Linked DNA regions of Homo sapiens: all the other regions are linked to region 1. Evidence: promoter capture Hi-C in human tissues and cell types (Jung and others, 2019). All regions are on one chromosome and are shown on one strand. The core of a region is centred on a gene start or on the middle of the fragment in contact, and the rest is flanking DNA. Distances in the headings are between cores, read along the strand shown.

Region 1 (3,579 bases), core at 431-2,930:
GGGAGCAGGTGCAGTGATGAGCGAGGAGGAGACAGTATTTCTGGGACGGGAACTGGTGCATCGGTGGTCACAGGCTCCCTGGAGCCGCCATCCCACAAGGATGGGGGTCACCATGCAGGCTGCTTGCCAGCCATATCCACACCTAACGCACACGGCGGTCTGAACTGAGGGGTCTGCACATGCGACAGTGAATGTGGTCTCAGAGATCTCGGGCTCTCCTGCTGTCAGGGCCCTGGCTGGGAACTTCAGTGTCCTGGAGCCTGCCATGCCGAGGACATCCTCGGTCCCTGCTACCAGGGCAACCCCTGGCCCACCCTGTGGCTGTGCAATGTGCTCTGTTATAAGGCATGAGATCTCTTTCAGCTCTGCTGTTACACTGTGGATGGAGCCTCTTACTTCCTGCCAATTCCTGTGCAGGGCCTGGCCACTGCAGCTGTGTGTGTGTCTGTAGCTGTGTTGTCTCCATGTGTTTGTGCGTGTATCTGTGTGTGTGTCTGTATCTGTGTGTGTATCTGTGTGTGTCTGTGCGTATATCTGTGTTTGTATATCTGTATATGTGTATCTGCGTGTGTGTCTGTGCATGTATCTGTGTGTGTGTCTGTATGTGTCTATGTATCTGTGTATCTCTGTGTCTGCGTATCTGTGTGTCTGTGTATCTCTGTGTGTAGATCTCTGTATCTGTGTGTATCTGTGCATGTGTGTATCTGTGTGTCTGTATCTGTGTGCCTGTGTATATCTGTGTCTGTGTATCTCTGTGTGTGTCCGTGTGTGTATCTGTGTGTGTCTCTGTATCTCTGTATCTGTATGTATCTCTGTATCTGTATCTGTGTGTCTGTACCTGTGTCTGTGTATCTGTGTCTGAGTATCTGTATATATTTGTGTGTGTCTGTGTATCTGTGTCTGTGTGTATATCTGTGTATCTGTGTGTATCTCTGTGCCTGTGTGTGTGTCTCTGTGTATCTGTGCATGTGTCTGTGTGTATCTGTGTATGTGTGTCTGTGTATCTGCATGTGTCCTTGTGTGTCATCTGTGTATCTGTGTCCTGTATCTGTGTGTCTGTGTATTGCTGTGTCTCTGTGTGTGTCTCTGTGTATGTGTATCTGTGTATCTGTGTCTGTGTATATCGTGTCTATCTCTGTATCTGTGTGTGTGTCTGTGTGTATCTGTGTGTGTCTGTGTATCTGTGTGTGTCTGTGTATCTCGTGTGTGTGTCTGTGCTGCAGGAGGGGCTGTCGGCAAGTGTAACCTTGGCGTCCTAGCTGGAGGGCCTCTCAGTGCCCGCTGGGAGAGCTCTGAAGGGAACAGAATGTTCACTGAGCATTTCCCCGTTCTTGTTCATAGGGAAAAGCCTGTCCGCAGTCCTGGGCCGCCTCTTTAGAGGTAAAGCTGGAAACTATCCCCGCGGAGAGCGCTGTCGGGGACGCCGGGGCGGCGTGGCCTTAGACGGAGCTGCTCTCAGCCCGCGCCGCCGGGGGCTGGGGAGCTGAGGGGCCGGGGGTGCGGAGCGGGCGAGCTGTGGGCGGGGCCATGTGGGCAGCTTTGTGGGCGTGGCCGGGAGGGGCGTGCTACGGGCGTGGCCGCACTGTGGGCGGGGCCGAGTGGGGAGTGCTGTGGGCGGGGCCGGGCCGGGGGCGTGCCTGGGTGGGGGACCCGCTGCGGGAGCGCCGAGCTCCCTCTGAGTTCTTACTTCGAAGGCTGTGCTCCGCTCACCATCCAGAGCGGAGGTGCGGACCTTAAACTCACTCCTGGAGAAAGATCTGCAAGTGCGCAGGTAAAGTGCACGTGCTCCGCGGTCGGGAGGAAGGAGGCGAGGAGCCAGACTAGCCTGGGAACAGGCAGGGAGGGTTTACACAGCCCCGGCTGAGTCGCGGCTTAGGAAGCAAGGCAAGTTCCCCTAAAGGTTAGTGTGCACAGACGGGTGCGACGGAGCCGACCTAGCGCGGCTGAGTCCGCCTGGGCCTGCAGCAGCTGCCCCCTGAGCACCCCCTCCGGCTCTCTGCCAGGCGACCCAGGAAAAAGTCGCCCCCTGGTGGGCCATGAGGTCATGGGTGGGGGGAGTTTGGAAAGGTTCAGACAGCAAATGTTCCACTTGAACTCCAGGGCAGCATCTGGCACTGCGGGGCCTCCTAGCCATGAGCCGTGGTCAGGCGTTTCCTTAGAATGGAATGCACTGGAGTGAAAACACTAAATCCCTCAAAGCTGCTTCTCTTTACTGTGGTCACACACAGTGAAATCAATGGGCATTAGTGCAGCTAGCTCTTTTCAAGGACACAATGTTAAGCACAGGAAGCCTGGTATGTGGACGCTCTGGGTTTGCAGAACCAGGCAGGGGCCAGGGGCTCAGGACAAGTGCCCGGTGCTCCCTTCCCATTGGGCGAATCAGAGCCTGGGGCCCGGCGGTGAAGCTCCCCAGGTGACTCTAATGTGCAGTGCACTTTGAGGAGCACTACTTAGACCAATGTGACAGTCTACAATGTGTAGATTTAGGGTGAGTGATTCTGAGGAAAAGAAACCCGAGGCTGTTAGCAGTTGTGGGCAGCTGCTGTCTACCTAAACCAGCTGCGGTTTGCTTGCTTGGTGAGCCTGAGCTTCGCGGGGCGGGCATGGCATCTGCCATCCAGGACCCTGGGACGGGGCCTGCCAGGGCAAGGAGCTGAGCATTGAACGCATCTGGGGATAACTATCTCTCATAGAAGAACTAATGAGGATTGAACCTGAACACAGAGATGAAAGAGCTGAGTAGACTGCAAAGAATTGCACAAAAACTGCTTGTTCTGCAAATTTAGTTTACAACAATTTGAGTGCAGTTCACATTGGTGTAATGTGATTTAGGATCATAAGTCCCTAAAGTTTCATTACACTGATGAAAAGCAAATGCCTATACTGTTCTTGTTTTATGAGAAGAACGCAACCTCCAGCCCCTGGAGCAGCTGAGATCTGAGGATATCAGGAATACCAGGAATGGGGAGGTCCTGGCTGTCCCTGGAAACCCAGCGGCATGACACCTGTGTCACCTGGGTCCCCGTTTCTATGCTGGAGTGGCAGGCAGCAAGGAAATATTTTGAGTTTGAGGCCATATGCATTTTGGAAAGATCACTGTGGCTGGGGGGTTGGGAGCAGCTGGGGAGTTGAAGAAAGCCACTGCCAAGGCCTTCCCACTGAGTGTGGTTGCCAGGCCGGGGCAGGGAAGCACTGGTGAGCTGCAGGGGGGATTCCCAGTTGGTGATGGGTGATGGATGGTGGGATCAGTGGGCCCCTGGGAAAGGCCAGGTGTGGCTTCAGCACTCTGGGAGTTTTGGGTACCTTTATGTCTAGGGACACAAAGAGGTAGATGGACACAGTGGTTTGAGCTGCAGAAGAGAGTTGGGCGGCCACCTGTCCACAGGTGAGGATGAGGTTTCTTGGGAGAGTAGAGAGAAAGGGGAGGCTTTTAACTGTTAGTAGTGGAAAGATGGCTTGCAATGGAGATAAAGGCTACCACAGAGGGGAGGAAAGCCCAGAGCCTGGAGGCCAGGGGGCAGGATCTGGGGCAGGGGCTGACCCAGTGTGGCATTCTCCATATGCTGGAAATGTGAGAAG
Region 2 (3,579 bases), core at 578-3,077, 1.1 Mb after region 1:
GCTTTGCCTAGAACTGGTAAAAGGCTGGTAAGATTTTGAGATGGTCACTCTGATGCACTGCTGGTGAACATATATATCAAGTTAATTTTTATGGAAAGTTTGCATCCTTTGGACAAGTAGTTCCACTTCCAAAGGTACAAATTAGGGAAAAACTGTCATGGTAAATTGAAATTGGCCACAAACTCTACCACCAAGGGTAGACTCTACTTGATCTAGGTCAGACTTGCAGCTTGCTTTGACTAACAGAATATCATAAAAGTGATGCTGTATGAATTCTGAACAAGACTTGCTTCTAGTCTCATCCAAATTCCGACTGCTCCTATATGAATAAGCTCACACTAGACACCTTGAGACAGAGCAAGCCCCTGTCTCAAAATTAAAAGAGTGAAATTCTGTCCTTTGCAGCAACGTGGCTAGAGCTGAAGCTTCTTCCAGTTCTAGATCAGAGGCTTGAGCACAACGAATAAGAGAAAGGGTAAAAGAGGATAACATGATTTTGTTTCCTATATAGTAATTGACTCAAAAGTTTGTTCAAGGTCTCACAATTTCTTTTTAACTTAAAAATAAAAATAATATCTAAAGAAAAAAATGAAATGCTGCACTCAAAGCACACTGCTTCATTAAGATATTTAACAATTTAAAGCTGGGCGTGGTGGCCTGCTCCTGTAGTCCCAGCTACTCGGGAGGCTGAGGCAGAAGAATTGCTTGAACCCGGGAGGCGGAGGTTGCAGTGAGCCGAGATTGCACCACCGCACTCCAGCCTGGCGACAGAGAGAGACTCCATCTCAAAAATAAATAAATAAATAAAATAAAATAAGATATTTAACAATTTAAATATTGAGGGAAAATGTTAAATAGTTTAGACAAATACTGCCATGATCCTGCTAGAAAATTTCTAAAACTGTTATACCACCTGTACCCCCAATAACTTACAGAAAAATAAAATAGAATAAAATAAAATAAAATGCTATCTTTGCATGACCACCCGGAGGGGCCCAGCTATTCTTGCCTTTCCAGTCACCCCGCTGAGGCCCAGATGGGCCAATGGAGCCACTGGGCACCATCCAGCCAGTCCTCCAACTGCCTGTAGACATATTAGGTATGTCCAGCCCAGCTGACTCCCGCTCACAATGCCAGTCCACACAGTCATCAGTCGTAGGCCAGTGAATCTTAAGGCGGTTTATTTTACAGCAATATGTAACTAATACAAATGTCGAATGCAGGTAAAAAATTTCTGCATTGGTGTTGTTTATCATAATGAAAATTTTAAGACCAAATAAATGTCCGACAACTGGGAAACATAAAACAATCAAGATGCAGTTTAAAAACTATTTCATGGAGTGCTCAATGGTGCCCAGGCTGGAGTGCAGTGGCGTGATCTCGGCTGGCTACAACCTCCACCTCCCAGCCGCCTGCCTTGGCCTCCCAAAATGCCAAGATTGCAGCCTCTGCCCGGCCGCCACCCCGTCTGGGAAGTGAGGAGTGTCTCTGCCTGACCGCCCATCGTCTGGGATGTGAGGAGCCCCTCTGCCTGGCTGCCCAGTCCGGAAAGTGGGGAGCGTCTCTGCCCGGCCGCCATCCCATCTAGGAAGTGAGGAGCGCCTCTTCCCGGCCGCCATCACATCCAGGAAGTGAGGAGCGTCTCTGCCCGGCCGCCCATTGTCTGAGATGTGGGGACCGCCTCTGCCCCGCCACCCCGTCTGGGATGTGAGGAGCGTCTCTGCCCGGCCGCCCCGTCTGAGAAGTGAGGAGACCTTCTGCCTGGCAACTGCCCCATCTGAGAAGTGAGGAGCCCCTCCGCCCGGCAGCCACCCCGTCTGGGAAGTGAGGAGCCTCTCCGCCCGGCAGCCACCCCGTCCGGGAGGGAGGTGGGGGGGTCAGCCCCCCGCCCGGCCAGCCGCCCCGTCCGGGAGGGAGGTAGGGGGGTCAGCCCCCCGCCGGGTCAGCCGCCCCGTCCGGGAGGGAGTTGGGGGTTCAGCCCCCCGCCCGGACAGCCGCCCCGTCCGGGAGGGAGGTGGGGGGTCAGCCCCCCGCCCGGCCAGCCGCCCCGTCCAGGAGGTGAGGGGCGCCTCTGCCCGGCCGCCCCTACTGGGAAGTGAGGAGCCCCTCTGCCCGGCCAGCCGCCCCGTCTGGGAGGGAGGTGGGGGGGTCAGCCCCCCCCGCCCGGCCAGCCACCCCGTCCTGGAGGTGAGGGGCGCCTCTGCCCAGCCGCCCCTACTGGGAAGTGAGGAGCCCCTCTGCCAGGCCACCACCCCGTCTGGGAGGTGTACCCAACAGCTCATTGAGAACGGGCCATGATGACAATGGCGGTTTTGTGGAATAGAAAGGGGGGAAAGGTGGGGAAAAGATTGAGAAATCGGATGGTTGCCATGTCTGTGTAGAAAGAAGTATACATGGCAGACTTTTCATTTTGTTCTGTACTAAGAAAAATTCTTCTGCCTTGGGATCCTGTTGATCTGTGACCTTACCCCCAGCCCTGTGCTCTCTGAAACATGTGCTGTGTCCACTCAGGGTTAAATGGATTAAGGGCGGTGCAAGATGTGCTTTGTTAAACAGATGCTTGAAGGCAGCATGCTCGTTAAGAGTCATCACCACTCCCTAATCTCAAGTACCCAGGGACACAAACACTGCGGAAGGCCGCAGGGACCTCTGCCTAGGAAAACCAGAGACCTTTGTTCACTTGTTTATCTGCTGACCTTCCCTCCACTATTGTCCTATGACCCTGCCAAATCCCCCTCTGCGAGAAACACCCAAGAATGATCAATAAAAAATAAATAAATAAATAAATAAATAAATAAATAAATATAAAATAAAAATACAAAATTAAAAAAAATAAAAAATAAAAAAATAAAAACTATTTCATGATACTTGAATACCAACGATATAAGGCTATGTGAGAAAAACCAAATTCTGTAATTTATAAATGTAATAGAAGCTTGAAGAAAACATATTTAAATATTCACATGTGATAGTTTCTGGATAGGGGCATATGGTTTTTGTTTTGTTTTGTTTATTTATTGTATTTTATTTTATTTAATTTTCGAGTCAGGGTCTCATTCTGTTACCCAGGCTGGAATACAGTGATGCAATCGTAGCTCACTGTAACCTCAAACTCCTGGGCTCAGGCAATCCTCCCACCTCAGCCTCCCAAGTAGCTGGGACCACAGGCACACACCACCAGATCTAGCTATTTCTCTCTTTCTCTCTTTCTCTCTTTCCTTCTTTCCTTCCTTCCTTCCTTCCTTTTTTTTTTTTTTTTTTTGAGAGACACGGTCTCACTATGTTTCCCAGGCTGCTCTCAAACTCCTGGCCTTAAGCAATCCTACTGCCCTGGCCTCCCAAAGTGCTGAGATGATAGACATGAGCCCCATGTCCAGCTGCATGGCTTTTATTTCTAGTTTTTATACTATTCCGCACATCCCACATTTTTACAGCATAAATTTCTTAGCTTAAAAATAAAAATAATATCTAAAGAAAAAAATGAAATGCTGCACTAAAAGTAGAATGGCTTCATTAAGATATTTAACAAATTAAAATGCTGAGAGAAAATGTTAAATAGTTTAGACAAATACCACCATG
Region 3 (3,579 bases), core at 366-2,865, 1.1 Mb after region 1:
AAAATAAACAACACCAAGAGTGAATCCTAATGTAAGCCATAGGCTTTGCATGATAAAGATGGATTAAGGTGCATTCATTCATTGTAACAAATACAATACACTAATGCAAGATGTTAATAATAATGTGTTATGTGTTGTATGTGTGTGTGTGTGTGTGTGTGTGTCTGTGTGTGTGTAGAGGAAAATATATAGGGGAACTCTACTTTCTGCTCAATTTTTATGTAAACCTAAAAATGCTCAAAAAATTTATTAATTTAATTCTTTTAAAAAACACAGAAAAGTAATCCTAACACTGAGCCTTTTGTGTCTATGTTAAGGCTGTGGCCCTACAGGTATGTACAGCTGCTGTGTGTCCATATTGACTAGGAAACAAAGCCAGGGCTTTGTTGCCAAGCAGGTCACACTCAGAACCTTGCTCTAAGATGTCTTCCACAAGCTTCCACTTACTGGACTCAAACAAGCAGGAAGGTCAATATCTTCTCCACTATGGTCTTGTGAAGATTAAAGGATTTGGGGTCAATAGCACAGAGTGTCAGAACATTGGTTTTCTTCTTTGCTTTCCTAAAAGGCTGCTTGAAGTGGATATTCTCAAAAATAAACTCACAAGCCCCCTTGCATGCAGCTTTCCTGGTGTGGAAACAAACCACACACACTTTCTTTGATGAATGCTACACATTTAGGTATGTTGCAGCGACAAAGGCAGAGGATGCTGTGAAAGCTTCATGTAGAGGAACATTCCCCTGGTCCCGTTTCTAATCTCGATAACTAGAAAAAGCATAAACAGCTCCAGGATAAACAAGACAAAGATAATCTATTAAACAATAGATTGAGACACAACTTCATTTCCACTCCACAGAAGGAATGGCTGAGGCAGAATCTTCAGTGTTAATAATATCAATAAAAGGCAGAAAGTGTGAAAGAAGGAGGAGGAAGAAGAGGAAGGAGAAAGTGAAATAGTCATTGTTCCCTGTTTCATTGATTGTTAAATGACTATTTGGACAAGAAGCCATAATTTTACCAGGCTTTACCTTTACGGTCAAACCCCCAATACAAATTTACATCCTTAAACCCTGTCTGCATCTCTAAATTGTGCTTCTTCTCATCTTGTATTCTTTGATTGTTTTAGTCTTTCTTATATCCTTTTTTATTGCTAACTCAATCCCCAATACCCACCTACACCGTCAGTTCTCTACTTTAAAATTTCTATTATTTTTCCTAAGATCTGTGTTTCATTTTTAAGCCCTTTACTTCTTTTAAAATTGCGTCGTTTGGTTGCACAGATATAGCGGGTCTATGTGATGCACTCGGCAATGTGAGATGCCCTTATCATTCTGGCGTCCCAGCAAAGCATTCCCAGCACAAAGGTAAGAAACACTCATTCTTCCAGAAGTGGTCCCCGAGGCCCCTGCCTCCTGAGGGCTTTGAAACTTCCCTCAGGCCAGCCAGAGCCTGCCAGCTCGGGGCTGCTTAGAAGGGAACCTACCTCCACTGTGGCACTCAGCTCATCCACAGACTTGCCCCACCAAAGCAGGCCTTGGTTCCTCGTGTCTCACCTTCACCCAGGACAATGCCTCACACTAGTCGGATGGCAAATGTGCGTGAAGGAACAGAGAGAGACACACAGCAACTCACCCAAGGAGAACATGGGAATTAAACATATAAATGTGCGTGTGTGTGCGTGTGTGTGCGCCTGTATGTGTGCGTGTGATGCATGTGTGCACACGTACGTGTGTGCCTGTGTGTGTGCACGAGTGTGTGCATGTGTGCATGCGTGTGTGTGTGTGTGTGTGCATTTTAAACAAATCCTTGCCTGCCCTCTATGCTTTGCTGAGCCGAGGTAGGCTAGTAGTACGTTGTGTCTTCCTCAGGAAATCAGACTCCAGAATGGCCTAGACAGTGCCATCCCTGCTGAGCGCTGACTGCGGCCTCGGCGCTGTTTGCAGAGGAAAGCACTTGCTAGCATTCGGCTTCCCCAGGGCTGCGTGCCAGCTGCTTCCAACTCACACAGCAGCAGGCAGCCACACAGGCTCCCCACCCCTTCAGTAGGGTAGAGAGCCATGCTAGAAAGAAAACCAACTGGACTAAGTGAAGTTTCAAAATATTCAGGGCAAGTTTTACAAATGAGAGAGTTAATAGAAAATAGCTTTCTACTCCACATCCTGCCACAGCTCAGCCTTGGAAACCTGCTGTGTCAGCCTCCAGATGAGCAGGATGCTGGTGCACACGTGTTCTTCTCCAGGGCCCAGGGCTTACAATGCCCCCGGCCATTCTAAGGTCGTTTCTCACCCCACAGGGAAGGATCAGAGTTCATGATTTCAAGTCCCTAATGTGAGCTCTGCATCATCATGTAGTTTTTGTTTTTTTTCAGGGAGAGAGGGGTCTGACTAGCGATCTTACTGGATTTTTTTTTTTTTTTTTTTTTGAGATGAAGTCTAGCTCTGTCACCCAGGCTGGAGTGCAGTGGCTCAATCTTGGCTCACTGCAACCTCCGCCTCCTGGATTCAAGCGATTCTTCTGCCTCAGCCTCTCGAGTAGCTGAGACTACAGGCGCCTGCCACCATGCCCAGCTGATTTTTTATATTTTTAGTAGAGTCAGGGTTTCATCACGTTGACCAGGCTGGTCTCGAACTCCTGACCTTGTGATCTGCCTGCCTCAGCCTCCCAAAGTGCTGGGATTACAGGCGTGAGCCACTGTGCCCGGCCTGGATTTGAACAAATCTCATGAAATATGACCTGCTCAGATCTCTGATGGGAAAAGGTTTTCACAGTTTCCAAACGCAGGGATCTGTTTTGGATGAAGAGAAGGCTGAGGTCCGACCCTTAACTGCAGCTTCAGGGCCTTGGTCACAGCTGCCCCCATGTGCCCCTCCAGGCATCTCTCCACACATCACTCCCTCGTCCCCAGCTGTGTGACGCACTCTGTCCTCCTGTGTTACTAAGGACCTTCAAACTTTATCCCACCTAGCACACTCTTGCCTATCCGTCAAGTTTCAGATGAAGAGGACCTCACTGGAGAAGTCCCTTCCACTCCTGCAGCAGGGCCGTATCACCGTGAAGGAGCCTGTCACTCACTCGGCCTCCTTCTCTGCAGCCCGTGATTTCCACATGAAAATTCCCGTCTATTCCAATAACAAAGCCTAACACGAGGCACAAAGTAAATTCTAAAGTTAAAGGCCTGCAGGAAAATCCCTCTATATGCAAATGCAATTGACTTCCTGAAATAATTCTGTAACCATATATCCAGGAAGGCACTTCTTCTTTGAGTGTTAGACATAAACACATGTTAGACGTAAAGGTGTTGAATAAACGGTTGTGGAACAAATGCAAGAAAATAAAACTCCAGAACAAGAAACATACATAAGAAAGGGTTACTCTGAGCAGTCAACTGAATAATGATGTATCAGGAAAAGGGAATATTACACTCACAACTTGATTTTAATATACAGCCATCTGCAGCACATAGGTTGTGTGAAATAATTCTCCTTTATTCATTCCACTTCTTTGCTCCAGTTTAGGGATGATATGGAGATTTTTTAAGTGAATCACCCACAAATATAACTTTACCCCTGCATGGAACCC

Evidence for each region. The method cuts DNA at HindIII sites, captures the fragments that hold promoters and counts their contacts. A contact is called where the count stands out against the background at its distance.
Region 2: a contact is called between a fragment that was not itself captured here and the fragment with the promoter of OCA2 in region 1, in 1 of the 25 tissues and cell types used here (dorsolateral prefrontal cortex).
Region 3: a contact is called between a fragment that was not itself captured here and the fragment with the promoter of OCA2 in region 1, in 1 of the 25 tissues and cell types used here (dorsolateral prefrontal cortex).

What each region holds. Positions count from the first base shown.
Region 1 is chr15:28,097,416-28,100,994 of GRCh38, reverse strand. OCA2 (OCA2 melanosomal transmembrane protein) reads left to right here and starts at 1,680. Exons shown (of 24, transcript NM_000275.3): 1 at 1,680-1,771. RefSeq lists an enhancer at 1,733-2,385. The HindIII fragment of the contact is 22,507 bases long and covers 1-3,579 here.
Region 2 is chr15:27,002,428-27,006,006 of GRCh38, reverse strand. All of the region lies in intron 2 of GABRG3 (gamma-aminobutyric acid type A receptor subunit gamma3), which reads right to left. Among named protein-coding and RNA genes, the nearest start is that of GABRG3, 33 kb to the right of the region's middle. The HindIII fragment of the contact is 3,227 bases long and covers 214-3,440 here.
Region 3 is chr15:27,027,649-27,031,227 of GRCh38, reverse strand. The region is part of intron 3 of GABRG3 (gamma-aminobutyric acid type A receptor subunit gamma3); the gene reads right to left. Among named protein-coding and RNA genes, the nearest start is that of GABRG3, 58 kb to the right of the region's middle. The HindIII fragment of the contact is 3,286 bases long and covers 1-3,258 here.